Linked DNA regions of Homo sapiens: all the other regions are linked to region 3. The links are contacts of gene promoters, found by promoter capture Hi-C in blood cells and fetal thymus (Javierre and others, 2016). All regions are on one chromosome and are shown on one strand. The core of a region is centred on a gene start or on the middle of the fragment in contact, and the rest is flanking DNA. Distances in the headings are between cores, read along the strand shown.

Region 1 (3,278 bases), core at 246-2,745, 240 kb after region 3:
CTCACTTCCAATATCTCACATTTAAATTTCTAGCTGGTTGCCATCTTCCTTGAATTGAAATACTTGATACTGTCTGATAAAGCTACAAATTTTGTGCTCCTACCCCAAACTGAATCTGTCATCTCCACCTGGAAAAAACAGGTTTTCACTACCTGTTAACAACAACTCAACTACTACTGGATAATGGTCTTTACCACTTGAGCTGTGGAAGAGAAAGGATGAGAACCCTTTCAAGTAAGAAGCCCACAGTCTTGTCGGTCTTACTTCATGCAGTAGCAGTTTTTCATGAGTAGATTTTCCTTAATTTGCTGTCTGCCTTTGGTCATCTTCTAGTACCTTGTGATGGTTGTTTTGAATGATTTTGTCCAGTTTTTGTTGTTGTTGTTGTTGTTGTTGTTGTTGTTGTTTTTCACTAGTTTTCTGCTTGGAGACAGGAAAGAAATTTAACACAGACCTTGTCATCCTACCTAGGAACTTACAAGTATAACTACATAATTGCAGAACCTCAAACATTTTTAAAGAGCAATACTAAAAGTGATTTGGTTGTGAAGATCTTACAAACACGTAACCTACACGATGAACAACAACAGCAGCAAAAGTCTATCCTAATGTTTTGCAAACAGTGCCATTGATTATCTACAGGGAAGCCTTTCTCTCTACTTCTTCCTTTCTAACAGAATCAGAATGTGTTCACATATTGTAAGATGTATGTTGCATATGTTTCTTCCCAGTTTTAAGGGATGACTATTAATTAATCCTAATCAATCATGATTAATATCCATTTAGAATTATCATTATAAGTATGGTTTTATGATAAAACCCTGGCCAATGAAATAAGAGGAGAAATCTGCCAGGTGGCTTCTGGAAAGGTTTTTTTCTTTCTCATATAAAGGGACATAAGACAGAAATGCACTCACTGTCCTACTTTCAAAAGATTTTTGATGAAGATATAATAATTGAAGCTGCTCCAGGAGGACAAAGCCAAGGACTGGCTTGGTGATATGATAGGATTACTAACCATCCCAGTTTACCTGACACTGTACCAGTTTTAGCACTGAAAGTCCTCTGTCCCAAGAAATTTTTCAGCCCTGGAATAACCAGAAGAGTTGGTCCCCCTACATTGCTCTGCTACTGAATTGACCAACCAACACTGGTGTGACCCTACTATCAGACTTCTTAAAATATGAATAATTAGTTTGCTGTTCTTTAAGCTATCTCTAATTGAATAGGCTATGATGTACAGCGAAAAGTGTCCTATTATAGTACCCAAATATAAACAGCTTTAACCAATTCATCCTTGTATACCCATTCACAACAAGTTAAAATAAGTCTGCCCTAGGAACTTTTCTTTTCTTTTTTAAGAGGGAATGGAGAAGAAGATGGTGAGGAAGAAAAAGTGGGGAGACAGGCAGGTTGGGAGACAGGCAGGGAAGAAGATGGGCATGGGAAGAAGACAGATGGGAGAGGGAGTGGAGAAGAAGGCAGTGAGAGGGAAGAAGACAGGGAGAGAGAGCAGAGGGAGGGAGCTAAGGAGAGGGAGCAGGGAAGGAGACCTGGAGAGGGAGCAGGGAAGGACTACAGGAGAGGGGGCCTGCTCTAGGAACTTTTGATGCATACTAGAAATGTACGTCGTAATTGCAGTGGTGGCCAGTATCAGTTACCCATTGAGAGAAAATAAGCTGTGTGAAATCAAAGACCATATCCATCTTGCAAGGAGCTGTATTCCTCATCATCCCCAGTCCTCAGCCCATGGAGGTAACCAATAAATATTTGGTGAATGAATATTACTCATTACTTTTACTGAAAATTCTCAAGCTAATAGGAAAGTGGCCCCTGGTGCCAGTAGAGTGAATTAAACAGTGAAGTAAACTTTAAAATATTGATTTGTAGACAAATCTGGTAAATCTGGTATATCACAAATCAGAATGGGCCAGAGGATCTGAAATCTTGTTGAGGAAGGGTGAGTAACAGAGGGAAATCAGGAGAGTAACAGAGGGAAGCCGGCCTAGAGTCTGAGAGTTTGGGGGTGAGGAAAGAGGATATGGCTCATGAAAAACTCTAGATATTGATATAAAAGTGTACATTTAAATAGAGTTAAAGTTTGTGGGTAACTACAAGTCAGATAATGTATAATTTTAATTAACTATGGAATATTGCAATATGATCAGGAAGGGTAGACTTCAGTTTTAACTGAATGATGCAGATGGTGAATGGAGCTGCAGCAGGGGCAGCCACAGGTCCATGGGAAAAGGGCAAAGTGATCTCACAGTGAAGATTGGGAGCGGACAGCCAGTCCGGATGGCTGGCTGGAGACCCTGGCAATGGCTTGAGGGTGCAGCCAGCAGGAGCCAAGGTGAGGCTGAGTCAGCCAGGGGAGTGGTGCTGGGAGCAGGGTTGAGCCAAAGGGACAGATCATGAATTCAACAGCTACATACTTCAGCTTCAGGGATCAGCTGGGTGCCCAGCAAACTAGTGAACAGGGCACTGCCTCAGAGGCAATGACTAGAGGACACCATGCTTAAGACCCTGAGTTCCCTTTCTCTGCTCATATCCTTGCTTTATCTTATAGGAAAGGCAGGGGAGGGGAAGTCTATCTGAGAGGCAGAACTGTTTGATTTAATAGAGAGTCAACATAAAACACCAAACTGGACTAAACTTTAAACCAGATTGGACATTTCACTATTTTTTTACTGCTAGCCAGTGATTGGGAGCTTATGAGGAAGACTGTAATAGATATAGGCTAAGTAAAGAAGTCTTATTTTTTCCATACATGAATTGTTGTTAAGTTTTTTGGCCCTCCTCCCCCACATACATATTCCATGTGGACTGTAAGAGAAAAAGAAGGAGCGTGGCTTTCCAGGAAAGCTGGAGCTGGAGAGCAGAAGCACTGGAGCAAGAATGAAATCAACAGACTTCCTGGATTACTCAGAATGAATGTCTCTGAGGCCGCAGCAGTGGGAGTTTTGATCCCAGAAAACACTGGAGCAAATCTGAATCTGCTTTGGTGATTGAATCCAGGGCTGTTCGTCTGTGTTATTCTGCTTCCCTCTGCTCCTAACCTCTTCTCTTTACTATTTTTCATCATGAACAATTGGCTCTGTGTACATTTTCAATGAGTGTAGCCCACTGGTTGGGTAGGGAGTCAAGGGTTAGATAGCCAAGCTTCCCCTTTACCCTTGGGTCTCATTTCCCGCTCTGGTTGGAAATCCCAGAGTTCCAATGATAACTTGATTTGTACTAAGGCATCTGATGTTAATGGTAATTTCTTCTCCAAGGTA
Region 2 (3,159 bases), core at 203-2,702, 180 kb after region 3:
TTGGGGTATCAGTTAGAGTGTATTCTTTTCCTAAGCATTTTTTTCCTCAACATCTTATACTATTCAAGTGTTCAAGTGCTGCCCACAAAATATATAGAAATATCTTGAAATCTCATCCAAACGATTAGTTGTGTTAGTAAGCTTTGATGTTAAGAATACTTTATTGTAATTCTTTTTAACCAGAAAGACATGTACTATACTTCTATTATCCAGAATGTTCAAATAATCAGCATGCCATATTCTTCAACCACTCTGCACAAATGGTAGTTCGCTGGTCATTTTAATAGTATGTAATTTCAATAAAGGCAAATTAATATAGCACTTTAGTCTTTATAAAGCAATTTTCATTTGCATTGCCTCATTTAACCCTCACAACAACCTTTGAGGTAGGCATTATCATAGTCCTCATTTGTATATCTAAGTAGTCTCAAAGATATTATGCAGTTGTCCCCAAATCATCTAGCTATTGAGTAGTAAAATCAGGAATCAAATCTTGGGCTGAGATGCTTTTCTCCTCTTGATACATAACATGAAGTGTGACACAGACTATAAAAGATAATGGTCTATAGCATCTTAATGCCTAAATGCATGTATGCTTTTTTTTTTTTTTTTAAGATGGAGTCTTGCTCTGTCGCCCAGGCTGCAGTGCAGTGGCTCAGTCTCGGCTCACTGCAACCTCTGTCTCCCGGACTCAAGAAATTCTCCTGCCTCAACCTCCCTAGTAGCTGGGACTACAGGCACACGCCGCCAAGCCGGCGTGTATTTCAGTCGAGACAGGGTTTCACTGTGTTGCCCAGACTGGTTGCAACTCCTGAGCTCAGGCAATCCGGCTGCCTCAGCCTCCCAAAGTGCTGGGATTACAGGCACGAGCCACTGCGCCCGGCCACATATATGCTCTTCATTATCTGTTAAATATTCCATGGCCATGCTCTGCTCTTCCTGAGTCTGCTAAGTCTTCTATACTTCATGTCCACTGATAAGACATTTCAAAGTGCCTTGAAACAAAATGCAGCAACTTGCTTTTACCAGTCTATTGTTTCTACCTGACTTGAGGCAGAATGCTTGCCATTCACCAGGTATTCATCAATTCATTCAACAAATATTTACTGAGCTTTTATCATATCGCAGGCACTGTGCTTTCAGTTTTTCTAAGGGTGTCTGTGGACACATACACAAGATAAACAGCCAATATATGTACAATTTTCCACTTGTTCTTTCCAATTAATACTCTGATTGCCACCAAATCTAATACCTTCCAGCCAGCTTAGATACAGACAGAGGTATGATTTGCCTGATATAGCTTCCCTTTTGGGAGACAGTTCCTCGTGAATGGGTACACAGCTCACTCACTGGTGGAACTTGAGAGGATTTGAGATGGTGTGTTGGTTAGTAAATACTGCCTGGACTTATGTCGAGAGAATGTTATTTCCTTCAAAATTTTCATTCAATAATTCCGATTACATAAAAAGAGTGTCATCGTTTGGGGCTAGTGTTATGTTTAAACTCTTCATAACTTGATAATCTCTCTTTTTAGCAGAGAGAAAACTTCAGGCTCAGAAACTTAAGTGGGGAACTTTAGTTAAAATTTAATATATTTTTTCATAGCATTTATTTTTAGTGTTACCTTTTTCATAGTGAGTGAAATGTGGTTACATTTCCACATCGAATATGGATTACAGTTTCTTTCATAAATTATTCACATATAAAAGTCAGTCTTTATTTAAAATGATGAAGCGTATGAGGGTTGGGGTTTCGTGATATGCCGTAAATTACAGAGGTAGGACAGAAATCACTGACATTGGGGAAAACTCATAGGCAGAGAAAGCAGTGGATTGATCAGCAGCAGCCTATTTCTAGGCCGGGTTGTGTGACTTTGAAGATATCATTGAATCTTGTAGCTCATCATCTTCACCTGTAAAATGCGGGGTTGGATGAGATCTATAGTGCAACATTTTTCTGTCCCCAACCCCCTGGGGACAGAAAATTCCCACTGCACAGGGGAACCTTACTACTGCAAGGATGGCAGACTAGGAATTAGAAGGTTAGCAGGAAATGTGTAGTTATTTCAGGTTCCCCAGGCTTCCACTCCCAAGTGTTCACGTTAAGAACATGCTTAGGGGTTGAGAATCACCAGACAAGTTCATCTCTAAGGCCTCTTCCAATTCTAAAACCACAAGAAGCTCTGATTTTACATATAAATGTGCATGCACAGATATCAAGGACATTTGGTAGCTGTGAGAAGAAAATATGCCTATAATTTTTCCTAAGAAGGAAGAATTATTTAAAATAATGATACGTCTGCTTCTTCAGGGGAAAGGTGTACATGGGAAAAACTCCAGGAGAGAAATGCTTTTTGCTGGGTTGATTAAAACTTGAGCTCTGTTAGTCAATGAGAATATGACTTATCTGGCAAAACTATCAGATTACAGAAATGTTATTTGTGTATATGTGTGCCAGAGATATTGGAGGTTCAGTTCCAGACCACCAGAATAAAGCAAATATGACAATATAGTGAGTTTTTTAGTTATCCAAGGCATATAAAAGTTATGTTTATGTTACACTATAGTCTATTAAGTGTGCAATAATACACTTATATCTAAAAATAATGTATATACCTTAATATAAAAATTGTAAATGCTTAATTGCTAAAAATGCTTACAATCATCTGAGCCTTCAGTGAGTCATAATCTTTTTGCTGGAGGAGGGTCTTGTCTCGATGTTGGTGACTGCTAATGGATCAGGGTGATGGTTGCTAAAGCTTGCGGTGGCTATGGCACTTTCTTAAAATAAGACAACAACGAAGTTTGCCACATTGATGTACTCTTCTTTTCACGAAAGATCTCCATAGCATATGATGTGGTTTGATAGCATTTTACACAGAGTAGAACTTCTTTCAAAACTAGAGCCAATCCTCTCAAGCTCTGCAGCTGCTTTATCCACTAAGTTTATGAAATATTCAAAATCCTTTGTTGTCATTTCAACAATGTTCACCGCGTCTTCGCCAGGAGTAGATTCCATCTCAAGAAGCCGCTTTTTTGGCTTATCCATAAGAAACAACTTGGCCGGGCACTGTGGCTCATGTCTGTAATCCCAGCACTTTGGGAGGCCGAGGCAGGTGGATCACCCGAGATCAGGAGTTCGAGAGACCAGCCTGACCAA
Region 3 (3,523 bases), core at 312-2,811:
TTATTATTATTATTATTTTTTGAGATGGAGTCTCGGTCTGGCACCTAGGCTGGAGTGCAGTAGCACGATCTTGGCTCACTGCAACCTCTGCCTCCCGGATTCAAAGGATTCTCCTGCCTCAGCCTCCCAATTCGCTGGGATCACAGGCATGCGCCACCATGCTCGGCTAATTTTTGTATTTTTAATAAAGACAGGTTTTCACCATGTTGGCCAGGCTGGTCTCGATCTCCTGGCCTCAAGTGATGCACCTGCCTCGGCCTCCCAAAGTGCTGGGATTACAGGCGTGAGCCACTGCGCCCGGCCTCATAACCTATAAAGAAATAGATTAGGGTTTCGCCATAAAAACTAAAAAAAAAAAAAAAAAAAAAGGGAAAAGCCACTTTTAAAATATATCATCAAAGGAAGAAAATAAAAATAAAAATAAAATCATCAAAATATTTCACTGAAGCCTTAGGTAGTTGATCAAATACCGAAGGTGAGTGGAAAGCCGTGGGTCTGGTGTAGTCGTCTGGCCCTGGCTGAGACACTAACTTCTCTGTATCTCAGTTTTCTCTACTCTAATCATGGATTTGAAAACATGAACGTGACACTGAGGGGACATCATCCCCAAATGCTCCCAGCCTCTGAACATCCACTTCCATTATGTTTTTAAAATGAGATGAGGAAGCAGCCGTCCTGGCCGTGGCCCTGAGATTCGGTGCTTTTCTCCAGCGGCAAGGCTGCTGCTGACGGCACATCAGCAGTGGCCTCAGCTCTGGGCGATCTTCCAGCTTTGGGAACAACACCTCTGACTGATCCTCAACACTTCCTACTTTCCTGCTTGTGCCCGACAACAGCCCAGGATGGGTCCGGGTGAACCCCAAGGGCTCTCTCAGACACAGAGACCAGGATTTCAGCCTCCTGGGCACCAGGCTGTCAGCTCCTCAGTACATGTTTCTCAACACAGGGATGGGAAATGTACCTTTCGTTCTAGTGCTGAAAGAAAGACGCGCAACTCCGCCCTCCGTTTTTGTTACCAACCTCTGTGCTGCGGAAATAATTACTGGGCTCGAGACTAACATCCCTTATGGAGCTGAGGGTCCCAAAACAAGTCCAGAGAAAGCAAACAATTACTGGTGCAATGACAGGGTTCTATCGCGCTGTGGTGGAAAGAACCCAGACTGTGAAGGCAGGAAACCCGAAACAGTCGGTCGCAGTTGCGCCCTTACCTGAGAGGTGACTGTGGCAAATCCCACAACCTTTAGAATCTCAGGGTCCTCATCTGAAAACACCTCCCCCTCCCAGAGTGGTCATGGGAACTGAATGGGCTGAGGGATGAGAAGGGGCTCTGCCGCCCTCTAACAGACACCCCCCCAACACCTTTGTTCTTCTTAAGCACTACAGTGCTAGTCAGGACTCCTTAGGAAAGACTGTTAACGCTCTGGGTCCCAAAACCTAGCACTAAAGACAACTGAGCAAAGCAAAATCAGAAAATAATTTGAGGAAATGTTCATTAGGATCTGGGTCACCCGGAACCAGTTTCTCTCGCCAAGACCTCCTTCCTGCGGAAGCACCCTCTCTGCGCCACGCTCCATGGAGGCGCCAAGGAGAAGGCCTGGGAAGGGAAGAGTGAACCTTCCCTGGTGGAGGGCCCACTCCTCAGGCAGTGGGGAGACCGCCTTTTGCATGCGACAGGACTTACCAGGTAGCGCTCCTCCTGCCTCATGCTGGGGGTGCGGATCATGTGATTTTGTTCCCCTCTCCAGTCTCCAAAGCGACGGAAAAAATAGTTGGATAAGAACCGGTTGACGGGGTCTCTAATGATGTTGATGTAGACAGGCTGGTCTCCTCCAAACCTAACACAAACATTGAGTTCGTTACAACCCATCACTGCAGGACGAAAACAGGGCCTACTTAGACAACATCTCCCCTTCCCTCTAGGTTAACTTATTGAAAGATGACCTCCTATGCTAAGGTGCCAATGACACGTAATAAGCAAACGGTGTTTCCTGATAAGCATTTTATTATCATGCAGGAAGTGGGGAGGATGATACCTGTTCCAGGTACCTGTTGAGGGGCTGTGAGGACATTTCATAGTATAGCACGGTACAAACCACACCATTGTGCATGTTAAGGAAGAGATGGTGTCTAGTTTTCTCACCAGGCTGTAGGTTTCTTGAGGATGGGGGCCACTCTGTATTGGATTTAGTATTTCCAATGGCTAGAACAGAACCCACAGGGACACAATTGGCCCTCGGTGAATGTTTCAGTTGATTGGTAGGTTCTGACTGCCTTGCTGGGTGAGACGGCACTTCCTCTATATTGTAATTCAAACAGTTCCGGGTCAGGTGCTCTGCAGTAAGGGAGTGAATAACAGCCAGTCTTCACTGAGCACTCGCTATTCACCTTGTTCTAAATACCTCATGTAACCAGCTTGCTGAAGCCCCATAACACGTCAATGGAGTAGAAAAAATAATTATCCTCATTTACACTTGGGGAAACTGAGGCAGGAATAAGGTTCATAACTTGTAGCTGAACTAGGATATGGGTCCAGGCAATCTGGCTCTAGAATCTATGCTCTTAATTATGGAAAAGTGATTTCTGGAGTTGAGGAAATTTTGTGTGGGATATCAAGAATGAAACAAAATTCAACATAATTATCCTCAAGTGATGGCAAGTGGCTTCAGATAAAAATAAAGCAAATAGCCAGGTGTTCCATTTTAATTCCTTCCATGAAAGGATTAGATGAATCCACTAAATCTTGGCCCAAGAACAAGGTCTTCCCGAAGCAGAGTGATGAGATTGGCTGGATTTCTCTTAATGATTCCTTCTTTTTCTCTTTGAACTGCTTGAAAGCAGTAGCCTTGAGGAGTTCGGGGAGAGTGCCCCAGTCTCTGGGCAGAGGGCATGCTCTGGTGACCTCCTGAGGGGCCTGCAGGGTTCTCTAGCCCTATGGCCTCGTGACCTTCTGAGGAATGTGCCTGGACATTCTGTCAGGGGTCAGAAAGAACTAAGAGAAAACAAACTGACAGGACCCCGCTCCTGCCTCTCCCCAGCTGGCAGACTCCATTCACCTTTCAAAACCCAGCCTGGAGTCACATCACATCCCTCAGCAATTAATGCCCAACCCAGGGTCCATGCCTCCCTCCTCTGTGCCCTGGGCCCTCTCTCTTGCACTGTGTGGAAATGTGTGCCTCTCCCATCAGACTGTGGGCCTCCTGCAGCCAGGAACGACACGCTCTAGCTCAGTGTGTGGCACACAGTAGGTGCTCAACAAATGATGACCAAATGAAGAAATGAACATCTGAGTGTGTGCCTCTCAGTTGTTAACGTTTCTTCCCATATCATGGGGCTCTGTTGTCAGAGGAAAGTAATAACAAGCCCCCATCCTTTTCTGTGTATGAATTCATATAATGTTGTTCCTGGTTTATCTGCATTTTTAAAAAGAATCTTCAGAGAGAAGAATCCAAAGGAACAACTCTGAGATAGTGGAATTTCAGGCACCAGGACATATGAATGACACCCTGGAGCCCTTAAATACTAC

What was found. The method cuts DNA at HindIII sites, captures the fragments that hold promoters and counts their contacts. A CHiCAGO score of 5 or more calls a contact.
Region 1: a fragment that was not itself captured here is called in contact with the fragment with the promoter of UST-AS1 in region 3 in 8 of 17 cell types (total B cells, naive B cells, naive CD8 T cells and 5 more); the score reaches 13.8 in total B cells.
Region 2: a fragment that was not itself captured here is called in contact with the fragment with the promoter of UST-AS1 in region 3 in 1 of 17 cell types (naive B cells); the score reaches 5.3 in naive B cells.

The regions. Positions count from the first base shown.
Region 1 is chr6:148,720,204-148,723,481 of GRCh38, reverse strand. No RefSeq gene overlaps it. Among named protein-coding and RNA genes, the nearest start is that of UST, 25 kb to the left of the region's middle. The HindIII fragment of the contact is 3,339 bases long and covers 1-3,164 here.
Region 2 is chr6:148,782,654-148,785,812 of GRCh38, reverse strand. All of the region lies in intron 1 of UST (uronyl 2-sulfotransferase), which reads right to left. Among named protein-coding and RNA genes, the nearest start is that of UST, 37 kb to the right of the region's middle. The HindIII fragment of the contact is 2,617 bases long and covers 144-2,760 here.
Region 3 is chr6:148,962,722-148,966,244 of GRCh38, reverse strand. UST-AS1 (UST antisense RNA 1) reads left to right here and starts at 1,561. Exons shown (of 3, transcript NR_038408.1): 1 at 1,561-1,684. UST (uronyl 2-sulfotransferase) reads right to left here. Exons shown (of 8, transcript NM_005715.3): 5 at 1,682-1,835. RefSeq lists enhancers at 1,520-2,096, 2,097-2,673. The HindIII fragment of the contact is 7,762 bases long and covers 1-3,523 here.